2 separate regions of the Homo sapiens genome follow, and region 1 is linked to region 2. Evidence: promoter capture Hi-C in human tissues and cell types (Jung and others, 2019). All regions are on one chromosome and are shown on one strand. The core of a region is centred on a gene start or on the middle of the fragment in contact, and the rest is flanking DNA. Distances in the headings are between cores, read along the strand shown.

The links. Contacts are between HindIII fragments. The study calls those that stand out against the background at their distance.
Region 1: a fragment that was not itself captured here is called in contact with the fragment with the promoter of PPP3R2 in region 2 in 1 of the 25 tissues and cell types used here (thymus).

Annotation. Positions count from the first base shown.
Region 1 is chr9:101,789,638-101,796,253 of GRCh38, forward strand. It overlaps the pseudogene MTND3P4. Among named protein-coding and RNA genes, the nearest start is that of GRIN3A, 54 kb to the left of the region's middle. The HindIII fragment of the contact is 4,162 bases long and covers 1-3,418 here.
Region 2 is chr9:101,591,238-101,597,428 of GRCh38, forward strand. PPP3R2 (protein phosphatase 3 regulatory subunit B, beta) reads right to left here and starts at 3,732. Exons shown (of 1, transcript NM_147180.4): 1 at 367-3,732. The coding sequence starts at 3,684. The coding sequence ends at 3,172. All of the region lies in intron 6 of GRIN3A (glutamate ionotropic receptor NMDA type subunit 3A), which reads right to left. LOC105376186 (a long non-coding RNA gene) reads left to right here and starts at 3,737. Exons shown (of 3, transcript XR_001746863.2): 1 at 3,737-3,851; 2 at 4,106-4,271; 3 at 4,360-4,578. The HindIII fragment of the contact is 7,456 bases long and covers 150-6,191 here.

The DNA of each region.
Region 1 (6,616 bases), core at 88-2,587, 200 kb after region 2:
GAGAATATTTGAAATCACAATTGTCCTGGAAAATGTAGGTTATATGAGCACAATCCCTGCAAAGGATCTGCAACATAGAGTTAAGCATTGATTATATGCTAGCATCTGGGGTTTTAAAAAATGAGAGGACATAGAGGATCCTCAAAGAGTTGCTTGGCTCTATTAGCCTTGGAATTGAGCCATTAGAAATGCTTCACTGCAGCCTAAATTCTGGGCCAGTCATGTGTAAGTGTTGTCATAATTTAAGGAGCCTGGTGAAGCTAACATTTTTTTTCCTTCTTCTCTGCTGGTCCCCTTGGGAATTACCTATATTCTGCAGAAATCAAACCTACATGCAACTGGTTATCTTTATGCACACAAATGGGGTTCATTGACATAGGTTTCCTTAAAAACCCCATCCTTCACCCCCAGACACTTAATAAGAAAGTCCTTTAACCTTAGATACAAGTAGAATTATACGTGTTTCATGAAATTTGTCGTTGTCATTGGATCCTGTCACACAGTGGTTTGGCATGAATGGGGCATATTGGTGTTGAGAGGATGAGAGATGAGGTTGGAGAGTTAATGAGGAACCAAATCAGAAGAGTATGTTATGCTACGCTGGGGCCTGTGAACTTTATCCTGAGGGTAGAAGGGTTCCACTAAGCATTTTATTTCATTGTTTTTAAAAATCAGGGTAATGATATAAGCAGATGCATATTTGGACAGTCAGGATGGATGCAGTGTGAAGAATGGATTGAAGGGGTGGCAGGAGGAGGTGCAGGACAGTGAACTTGAGGAATAAAATGGTGACAAGTTAGAAAAAGGGCAAATGGAGAAGGAAGTATAGAAATTGCCTTGAGGTGGGTGTGCGGAGAAACTGGAGAAGGGAGTAAGAGAAGAAACCTGTATTTCTGGCTTGAGCATTTAGGTATCACTCTCAAAGCAAATAACTCACTTGGGGAAAAGATGATGAATTCATCTGTGGACGCATTGAATTTAGATGTCTGTGAGTCATCAAAAAGTATCTATTTAGACGGTTAGGTATTCATCTCTGGAGCCCATGAGAGATATTTGGATGAGATAAAGATTCGGTATTTATTAGCACATAGATGTTAATTGAATCCACAGTTAACTGAGACAGTATTTACCAAGGAGACGGTGTGGAGTGAGAGGAAAAGAAGTCAACATTTGGTTTGCTAATACAGGGACATATAGAGAAGAAAATCCTGTAATGAGATTGAGATGGAGATGCCAGAGAGTAGGAGGAAAACCAGAAGAGTTCATGTTCATAACCAATGAACTCATTAGAGCTCCCATCATTTGTATGGATCTTGAGTTTCCCAGGCAAGAACAGAGTGGAGAGGTGGATAGTTATTGCCAAGGTCTTTAAAGAAGTAGGAGAAGTAGATTATGTTGACTCATAGCGACTAGGAGAAGAGAGTGTGCTATGACTTGATGGCACATTCTTCACGGTGGTAATAATGAAGAGCTTGCAGCATGAGAAAATGAGAAACTTTTTGAGAGGACTGCAGAAAAAACAGTATTTTGAGAGGAGAAACAAACTTAAAGGCATGAAATGGGTGAAGAAAACAGAGGACTGGATACAGAGGATTTTTTTTACTTAGGATTTGACATAGTGAAAAGTTTGGGATAGAGGGTAGCAATAGGTGACTGTGTTAAGCAAAAGCAGCACAGAATATTGTGGTTGCTGACATGGGAGATGATAGCAAACCAGAAGGTTTTCCTTGGGTACTGTCTAAAGATAGCAGGGATTTGGAGTAGGTGGGTTTATCTGTTGGTAAAGTTGCTAGATAATCAGTCTTGGCTCTAACCTGTATGTGGCTAGAGTTCTTGTGTTTCTTATGGCATTATCTTTGCCCAATAGTCCTAGTCTTTGATAGATGAGTAGGTCTAGAGGTGAGATAAACAGCCCAAGGTCTGGTTTGAGGGCGTGACCTACATGAGGGACGCAATTTTCTCCAGAGTGGCAAATAAATGTTGGGTTCTATGTGCCAACCCTTGAACTACATGGAACACGTTTCATCTCAATTTTCAGATCACAATCTGAGGTCTGAAGCTTTTCTTGTCCCTTAAGTCATAGTTACGTAATCCTTTTAAGTGCTTCTATAGTATCATAAAATTTCCTCATCACAGCACTTGTCAAGATATATTATTTCTAGTTTATATAGCTATATCTTCCACTAAGCCATACTATTTAATGGACATGAATTTTCTCATCCGCTGATATATTTCAAAAATCCAGCACAGTGACTGACATATTTCCACACACACACATACCCACACACGTATATACATATATATTTTTGAAGTATGTGGGTGGAGCTGGAATATCCTGCAGGGAATGCACCTTCTATCTGAGGAACTGTTGTGTGACTGTGCTCAGGGGACATGTTTTACAGTAAGGTGAAAGTTTGCCTGGCTCAGGGTCTAGGGAGATGCATGGAGCAGAGGGGTTGCGGGTCTTGTCAGCAGCTCGCATGGATTATGGTCAAAAGAGGGCAGCAGAGGGTCACAGACGAGAGGTGATTTTAAGTGGTGCAGAAGAGTGGGTGGAAGAGAATACAAAATCAGGAGTGAGAGTTTTGGGTGCCAGGGATAAGGGTGGTGCTCTTTATAGAAGCTAATCCTGTTGGGGGGAGGTTTAGTAAGGAGAGAGCTGGGGAATCCCCAGGTGTAAAGAGGATGCTTAAAGGAAAACTAGAATATTAAAACCAAGGAATGAAGCAACCCTCCGTCCTGCTTGTTATGTAGCAGATATCAGAGTTTGACCTTGAAAGTGTGGTCTGCCATTCATAGGAAGGAGGGATAAAAGATGCGGAAGTTTAGTGGAGTGGTATACAAGAGAGATGTGCCCAGGAAATCCTGGAAAGTTTGCCTCTTAGAAGTAGATTGAATCTGTCTGTTCTGAATGGTCCAAAGAGAGACAAATGGCCTCATGAGTGGGGAGGCAGGGAGAGCAATTTCAATTCTAAACAAGAACTCTTTACTTCTCTAGTCTTGTCTCATGCTACTCTCCTCCTTTGTGAACTCTGCTGTAGTCATTACTGGCTTCCTTTCACTTCCTTAAACAATTTTCTGTTACTTCACTATTAGCATGGTTGGATTTTTGTCATCCTTCAGATCTTGATGTAAATGCTATTTCTGAAGAGAGTTTTTTTCTAACTATCCTTTGCTCTTCACTCTAAACACCCATTACCGTTTATATTTACGGTTTTTCTCTTGTTTATCGTCTGCCTCCTCCTGGAGAGTAAGGAACATGTGTGTTGTACTCTCCAGGGAATATCCAGCATCTAGTATCATATCCAACTTGTGATAGTGGTTTCATAAGTATTTTCTGGACAAATATACTGAACAAGTTGCCCTTGGAGGGAGGAAGTTGCCTGTGATGGAAGGTATTTAATATGGACTGGACATGCAGTTGTCAAGATGCTGTATAATATTCAAGGATCAGATAGATTGTTACTGAAATGACATTTAAAGTTGCTTTCTGTCATTCCATTCTATTATTCCAACAAATGAAGAGTATAAAATTAATGACTCTAAAATGGAGGCAATAATGGCTCCATTGCTCATCAATATGAACAGAAAAGAGAATAAATGTGGCTAATTAGAAGGTAATGAAGATCTTACCTACTCATTAATAAAAGTAGAAAGTGTAATTTGTAAGGAATCTGAACCTTAAATAAATCAGTAGACTTGGGTAACTTTCTAGGGAAATATTTAGGTGCTAATCCAAAAGCAGATTTGAAAATAGCTACCTTATTCTCTTCGTATTTTTAATAACTAGCACATTATCTGGCACATAATAAATGAACCTAGGATTAAAATGGTAACTAATATAAGGGCTGTGCTGATTATTAGTGTCAGGTTGGTTGTTTGAAGGGCTCATGGCAGCGGTAGTAGTAGAGTGATCTCTAAGTCGAACAAGAGGAACATGATGGCTACTAGGAAGAATTTTATGGAAAAGGGGAGGTGGGCGGAAGTTATTGGGTCGAATCCGCATTCATAGGGGTCAGATTTTTCTATATAAATATTAAGTTGTGGGAGCCAAAATGTTATTATTATTAGTAATAGGGCCAGTAAGGTGTCGGTTATTCAGGCTAGTGTCAGGTTGATTACTCTCTTTTGAATATTATCAAAACTAATTGATTGGAAGTCAATGGTACTGTTTATACTTCAAGAGTAGGATCCTCCTCAGCAGATAGAGAGGTATAAGAATAGTCATACTACATCTACAGATAACTATTTGCTCAATAAATAAATAAATAAATAAATAAATAAATAAATAAGTGAACTTTTGGAAACCGCATCCCTACACTTTCATAAACCTTTCCAGGTATAGAGTCTGCATTAGAGTATTCCCTCTGCTCAGTATCATTTGCCCTTTTTATAGCTTAACACCTTCCCGTAGACAGTATATTTACCATGTTACCAAAGGGAGGAGAAAATGATGCAGGAATGAAGATAGTCATGCTCCTCATTGCTGCATATAGACGCAGGATTGCTGAAAACATTTTTAGTTTTTTGAAATTTTTTATGAGTTGCTTTTACGCTTTGTTAAAATTGATATTTAAATAAATGCCATAAAAACTAATGCTCATTAAGATGATAGACATGGTTTGGATAAGTAACTTTCCTTCAAGTTTTTTTAGCATACATGTATCACCAAATGTGAAATCTTAATAATAAAATATATATATATTTTAGTATTATCTATTGAGATAGACAGACTTTAAGATGGCCCCCATGATTCCCATCTCCTGGTGTTCATAAGCTTGCATAATCCTCTCCTGTGTATGAGTGGGATTTGTGACTTGCTTCTCACTAATAGCATGTGGTAAAAATGATGGGATGCACTCCTGTTATTATGTTGTTATATAAGAATTCGTCTTGCTAATAGGCTTGCTGTACAGTCTGTCCCTTGTTTACTAGCTTTGAAAAAGCGAATTTCCATAAATCCTGCAGGCACAAGTAAACGAATTCTGTCAGCAACCTGAGGGAGCACAGAAGAAGATCATCCCCAGTCAAGCCTCCAGATGAGAACCATGTTTTGGCTGACATCCTGTTTGCAGCCTTGCAGATAACTCAACTGAAAAATACTCAAGATTCTTGATTCACAGAAATTGTGAGATAATAAATGTGTGTTTTTTTAAGTCACCAGGTTTGTGGTATTTTGCTATGAAGCATTGACAACTAATATAGCTGTGAGCACATAGAGCAAAGTATACAGCAAAACCCTAAAAGAGCTATTTAGTTATGCTTCATAGCAACAAAGAAACAGTACTGTATCCCATTATAATATCTGAAATACATGATTTCTACACCTCTGTTCCATGTTAAATCATTACTAAAGTTGTTGGATGGTCTATTTTCTAGGATTATTCACACCTGATGGCTATGTCTTTCCCTAAATTTCTTATTGTCTGACAGTTGTCTCAGATTGCTACACAAACAGATATGGAGTTATTAGCCATTTGCCATGAGTCAGACTATGTGATAGGCATTTTTATTGCAATTTGTTAATTTTTGCAACAGGCCTATAAGACTGCAGTTTTCAAAGTCCCAGGGCGCTGTGACAAATTAATAGAGGCACAATTAGATATTTTAAGTTTTTGAGGGGAAGCACAGTAATAACTGAAATCTGCCAGATACCATACGAACTACTAGTTCAATATAGTTCAGTTTCCCCATTAGATTGTGCAACATTTCCTTGATGACATCATATCTTTAAGAAGCAGGAATTTGAGAGGGATTTCTGTGATAAAATGTTAAATACTGCACAAACATCAATATAGAACAAAAAATGAGGGTGAGAGTTTCCAATGTGTTTCCAAAATTTGAGAACTAATGCATTGTCCAATAAGCACATTAGTTAGTAATAAAATGAACAATATTGTTTGTCTTTCAGTATATATATATTACCAAAATGGCTACTAAATAGGATACAAATACTCATTAAGTTATTTGTACTTAACTATTTAATAAACAGAACTGATAGGCGTTTCTTTTGGCTTATACATGTCATAAAAAAATTAGGACACTAAGAGTGTTGTGAGCCAAGGAAGAGCTACAATATCTCTTCCCATCCATTGGAATGGCTACTGTTAAAAAACAAAAAACCCAGAAAATAACAATCATTGGTGAGGATGTGGAAAAATTGGGAATTTTTTGCAGTGCTGGAGGGAGTGTAAGATGGTGTAACTGCTATGAAAAACAGTATGGATTTTCCTAAAAAGTTAAAAATAGAACCACTGGGCCACCACAGTGCCCATGCCTGTAATCCCAGCACTCTGGGAGGCTGAGGCGGGCAGATCACTGTAGCCTAGGAGTTTGAGACCAGCCTGGCCACCATGGAGAAACCTCGTTTCTACTAAAAATACAACAATTAGCTGGGCATGGTGGTGCATGCCTGTAATCCCAGCTACTCAGGAGGCTGAGGCAGGAGAATCCCTTGAACCTGGCGGTTAGAGGCTTCAGTGAGCCAAGATCATACCACTGCAACTCCAGCCTGGGCAACAGAGTGAAACTCTGTCTCAGAAAACAAAACAAAACAAAAACAAACAAACGAACTTCAGGAAATATATCCCACAGAACCGAAAGCAGAGTCTTGAAG
Region 2 (6,191 bases), core at 2,482-4,981:
AGAACCAAAGAGGTGGAGGCTGCTTGTTCTTTGACAAGCAATTTACCTCTTTGGGCTTCAGTTTCATCATTTATGAAAACTGAGGCTTGATTTGATGACATGGTTAAGACTATAATAAATAATTTGTAACAGGTAGATATAGGAGCTATAAAAATAAGATAAATGCAGAGAGGTAGAAATAAAGCTCAGGATTTGGGGTCAGAAAGCCTGGTTCAAATCCATGCTTTGCCACTTACCAGCTGGGCGACTTTGGAGAAGATGCTAGATCTCTACATGGCATCATCTGTAATGCTGAAATAATGGCACCAGACTCACAGTGTTGTTATGATGATTAAATGATATGTATAACAAAGGTTATATCAAAAGTTATGGGACAATTGCTCAATAAATGTTTATTATCATCATCCCAAGAAACTGTATAGAACTAGATTTGTTGGCAACTGGCAATTAACTGACAGGAAAAACAAAGCATTCCGATTTGGGAATAAATGTGATTCTTTTAACCCAAATATCCAGTTAGATCTTTCAAGTGCTAAATCCAGATACAGGCTCTCAGTTCAAGGTCATTGCCACAAAGCCTTAGGTAACTATCTTGAGTAGATTTATTGAACAATTAGCTTGTAAATTCCAGCCACTCCAGAAACTGAAACACATTTCCTCTCTTTGTTAAATGTGAGCATGTAATCCAATATGTTTCAAGCCCTTGGTCATAATTTTAAAATTTCCATATTTTAATGTGCACATTGCAGGGTGTATAAATAATGCCTCTCTTTAATGACAATAATGTCCTCTTGGCTAGCATGACATGTGCTCACTTCCTCCATGTAAAATTCCTCCACAAAAAGTTAAATAGGTTGGGCTGGAATGAGAGATTTTGTTTTAAAAATTCTCCAGTTCTCAGGTCAGAAAGTCTGTTGTCCCCTCTGCAAATGAAGGAGTGGTGAGGACCTTGAAATTGTTCCCATTGTTTTCTCTCTGGGCTTGGACATGGGCTGTACACTAATGTCCAGTTAATTTTAGAGTGGGTGTAGCTAAGAACTAAGTAAGTGTTCAAAAGCAACCAGTAAGCCTCATGTCTCCTTTACATATTGATCTTGTAGAAGGGGAAGAAGGGGGAAGGGAAGGGAATTAGTTGAATGAAAGTGGAATTGTGCTCCAGGTGTGTTGCATGCCTTTTTGAATCCTCAAAATAACCCTGGGGTGGATCCTCTTTAATTAGGTGGAAAGACACAGAGAGGCTAAGTAAATTATTCATGCTCACACAGCTAAAAAGAAGTGAGTGTGATAACAACCCAGTTGCAACTGAATCCAAACCCAGGTGTGTCTGAATCTTTGAACATTACATAACCCTGATCACCACAGGGTTGGGAGCGTTTATCACAGTTTTTAGGGTTGAACAGGAATTGAAGGGGTAAGGATTCCTATTTTTGTGGTTTCTAAGTAATCTATTAAATACAAAAGTATATGGTAGGGTACCTTGATAGATGGGTTCCCTACAAGTGATTAAATTTGTGGACTTTTTTTTTTTTTTTCTATTTTGGTCAAGACCAGTTGCCAGCTTCTTCCAAATAAAATAGCAGTAAATCTCCTTGAAACAGATCTTCCATGTCCTGAAAAAAGTTACCTGAGTGGTATCTCTTGGCTAAGCAAGTGTAGGGAGAGTATGTTTCATTGTTCTGCTGTTTTGAGAGCCTTAAGCATCTTATATGGGAAGTGGTTCTCTGTGAGAAAGAGGATTGGTATGGAGGCACAGATGCTGGGACAAGTCCTAGCCCTGCTCTTCTGAGGACAGTTCATGCTCTGAGAACTCACAATAGTATGTGGGACACCTCAGGGAGCTGGTAACATTTGGGGTACAGGCAGTGATGTATTTACTGGTAAACAAATTCTCCAAAACAAAACAAAAACAACTAAAAGCTTTTGTTCTTTTCTCACCATGGCTGATCTAAAGCTACCAACATGACATAAATGCGTGGGAAGAGACACATGCATTCTGGATCTCCCCTGGAACCACAGGCTCCGGCTCACCCAATGGTGGAGATCTGTTAGTGTGTGAGGACTTCTGCACTGAATGTTCCACTAGGGAAAAGGCTTCCTGGAATGAGAGAGCTCTCAGTTTCTCTTCTAGGCCTCAGATCTGATTTTCAAAATCAGCATAGCTGGTGTAGCTAGCATCCACCTCTGCTGTGGAGACACAATTGTCAGTCTCTGCATCTGTGAGCAACAGACATAATGCCACTTTGGCATCCTAGGGAGATTCCACTGCAGCCTGACTCTACTGCCTCTCCTCCGTAGGACAACTAACTAAATGTCTCATTGTCTCCACCTGGGGGTAGGGACCAGTGTCGGAGGTGAGAGCACTTTCTGGGAGAACACTTTGCTTGCCCTATTTAGCTGGAGGTCCCCTTCATTGAAATTAATGCTGGTGTGGGCTGCCAACCCTGGAAACCCACTGCTAATGAGGATGATGGCTGAGCTGGGCACTTAGTCCAGGCTTAGCATTTCCTATAAGAGCCCTGAAGCTAGTTTCTGTTCAGGAGCTGGAGCAACAAGTCAGGAGGAGGCCAAATGAACTCCTACCCCTCAAACATGCACAGCGATTTCTGGATGCATTGTGGGGAATGGGGCTGCAATCTGCCGAAGGAAAAGATGGGATTCTGTCCCCTAAGAAAAGTGATTACGAGATGCCCAGCAAAGACAAATATATTTGTCCCTGTTGCTACAATAGGAAGTTAACAATCTGGCAAGATATCTGAACACAAGCAAATGAAAACAGTTCACCTAACACCCATGCAAATTATAAATTTCCTCCCATATACAAAATGATGAGAAATAACAGCAAAAATGTATACTTTCTTATTTTTGAACTTTTAAAGTTCTAGTTTGGTCTTTGAATCAAAACAAAGTAAAAGATGTTTATAAAAGCCATTTCCTTTTCTTTCCCCACTATGCTCATTTGACTTGCTCTTCCCCCTATAGGGTACCCTGAGTCATTCAGAGAAGGAGAATTAATAGCACTGAGTTGGTGATGAAGCTCCTGTTAGGACATATGGCTTCACAAAAAGAAATACTTCCAGATAAGTCAGAGAGACAGTTGGACGTCTTGAGCAAATCTTGAAAGAGATAGGGAAGAAAGCAGAAGTTGTTGGGTGGTGCTTGTAAGAAAAAGGCTCATACGATGAGGACCAGCTTCTTGTGGATCTCCAGGTCTCTGACCACAGCACTGAATTCCTCAAAGGATATCTTCCCATCGCCATCCTTGTCCAGGATGATGATGGTTTTGTCGACCAGCTGCTGGAGCTGCCAGTCCGTCAGGTTGTTGCCCACCATCATCTTCAGCACCTGGAAGAGCTCCCCGTTGGAAATGTAGCCATCTTTATCCATGTCGTAAATGCTGAACGCAAACCTCAACTTCTGCTCCTCGTCGCCCTTGACGCTGAACTGGGAGGTCCCCAGGATGAATTCCTTGAAGTCCACTTCTCCATCACCGTCGGTGTCGAAGACGTCGATCACTCGCCGCACCAACGGGTTGTGGCGCAGCTCCGGCAGGGACATGAACTCCTCCACGCTCAGAGACCCTGATTTGTCCAAGTCCAACTTCTTAAACCTCCTGCCCAGCCTTTTAATTTCATCATTGTCAAAGTGGGAGCACATCTCCGCCGGGTAACTGGCCTCGTTTCCCATTGTGGACATCTGGCAACGGCCACGGCTCAAAGGGTCGGAGAGGGGAGCAGGGGCGGTGAGCTCGGGCGGGGCTCGTGCCCGGACGGTTGGGCCATGGGGTGGGGGTAGAGGGCTCCCGGGGGCCCTGGTCGAGCAAAAGGGCAGGGGAGCGGAGGGAGGGGCGGCAGGTCAGAGAGGGAGCGGAGAGAGGAGGGAAAGAAGGAGGGAAAAGGGGGCGGAAGGGGAGGTGGGTGCTGTCTGGGCAGGAGTATAGGGAGGAGAGAATGGAGCCTGGGGGTGCCCGGGAGAGGCAGAGGTGGAAAGCTGGGCTGCCCCTTCTCTTTTTCCTTCTCTCAAACTCCTTGTACCTTTCCATGATAACCCCAATTTCCCTGGCAATTATTTTATCTACTTATTTCTTTTTTTTTTTTCTCTGAGAAAGTAAACCCCAAAGGAGAAGGGATCGCACCTGTGTTATTCGCTGCAGTATCCCAGAAGCACAGTGCTTCACAGGCAATATGTGCTTAATAAATATACGCCGAATGACTGAACTGCAACCAAGGACACTGTATACTTGCTTTACAGACCTAGTGTAAGGATGAAACAAGGTGACACATCAAGGCATTGATATAGTATGTTTTCCACGATTCCCTGGGAGGGGAAGCCGGGATTGACATCCTTCTGTACCTTTTTCAGGACGTAGGATTCAGAGTGTTTGTAAGAGACCAGGCAGATACCGCGCAGAATTTCTTACATGGATCACCTACAGGCACTAACATATTCCCGAGGAATATAAACAATGCTGAATTCAGGGCGTTTTTCAAGATGACACAGGTCTCAAGAACACAACCTCTGTTACTCTGTTCCCTCTTATCCATCATCTCATGCCCGAGTCACATCTTTGTTGTTGGTGCCTGGCGGCTATTCTGCAGAATACCTTGGGGGAAGGTCTGCAATGTGCCCAAAGAAGCCTTTTGTGTGTGTTGAGAGTGACAGTCGCCTCTGGATGATCTCACTTTTCTCCTTTTGTTTCAACTAGATTTGTTCTTTCTGTTGAAGACTAATCTCACATGCTCCCTCTTATTCCTTCTTCCTTTCGGAGCGCATCAATTACTCCAAATGCATAAGAAACAAATGTGGTTCAAGAGCAAACAGTTCAAAGGGACTTGGGGGAACCTCAGGCCACTACATCAAACTGAAAGATGCAAACACTCCTTCGCTTTAAAAAATGTTGGCAAGTTCTGTGTTCTATAGTTCAGCCAAAATATCAGTCTAAAGATAACCATGCTGGAACTAGCAAAACTAAGCCACTGATCACCTTATCATTAAGTCTGGCCATTTTACTTTCCTCTATAAACAAATGATAATCCATGGATATGTTTTAAAGCTGATTATGGGCATTACACAAATGAAACCCCCTTTCCCAATTAGACTGTTATATTGGAATGTTTTTTTGTTTCATTTATTTGCTTGCTTTTCAGTTATTCAGAGAAATGAGCATGGTACAGTTTGCATATAAGCCTATTGAATTTGCAATATTAAGGATACCACCTTAAATTATATTACAAGATGCCTAAAATCAGTGTTGGTCTCTAAATGATACCAACCACTATAGCCTGTGTTCTTTCTAAAGCACAAAGACCTTTCTGGACTCTCTGGGGGAAATATCCAGGCCCTGCAGGTGCAGTTCTGAAAAAATCAGAAACCTCAGGGGCAAGGACAGAACTCTATCTTTTGGGCATGCACTGGGGCTGGGAGCCTCTAGAATTGTGTTATTTCTCTCATCTTGTGTCTTTGACCACAGTGTAGTCCAGTTTCTTGGCTGCAAGTAAAAGAATCTACCTCTAAGAAGCTTAACATGAAAGATAATTTGTTGGAAGAATCTCACATAATCTAAAGAAGAGCTGAATGATTCAGTCTTAGGAAGGGTGAGGATCCCACTGGGTTTAAGGAAATATTGGAACCAACGCCTCAGGACCAGTTATGTAATTTGCAGTGTCCTTTGTTTGAAAATGATTGAGAGCTTCAAGATGGCCACAGCAGAACATTAAACCAAGTACGGGACCTTATGAGACTGCGTGGGCCACATGCCCATGAAGCTGGCCCTGCAAGGAGTTGGGCCCATTGACCTCTCTGTGCCTTTCACCTCTGCTTCTCTTTCCTTCACTCTCTCCTATGGTAAAGCAATTCTTCCACATTGCAGAGGACACAACCACTGACAGATTCCAAGTTAAGACTTTGGGGATTTTATCATCAGAAAAGACGGACTTTTCCCTGTTCTAGTTAGATGCCCATAAATCCCATGAACAGGCTCTGATTGGTCTCACTTGGGTTGGGTTCCCACCTATGAGCCATCAGACATGGCTTATAACATATGGGAGCTTCCATTTGAACCTCATGGATGGAGCTGGTCGGGGGGAAGTGGGGGCTGGGTAGGAAGAGCAGGTACCAAAAGAAGCACATGCTCTTCCTTATAAGAACAGGGTAATGCTGAGCAGACAGAACAACAGATGGACATTAGACAGGTC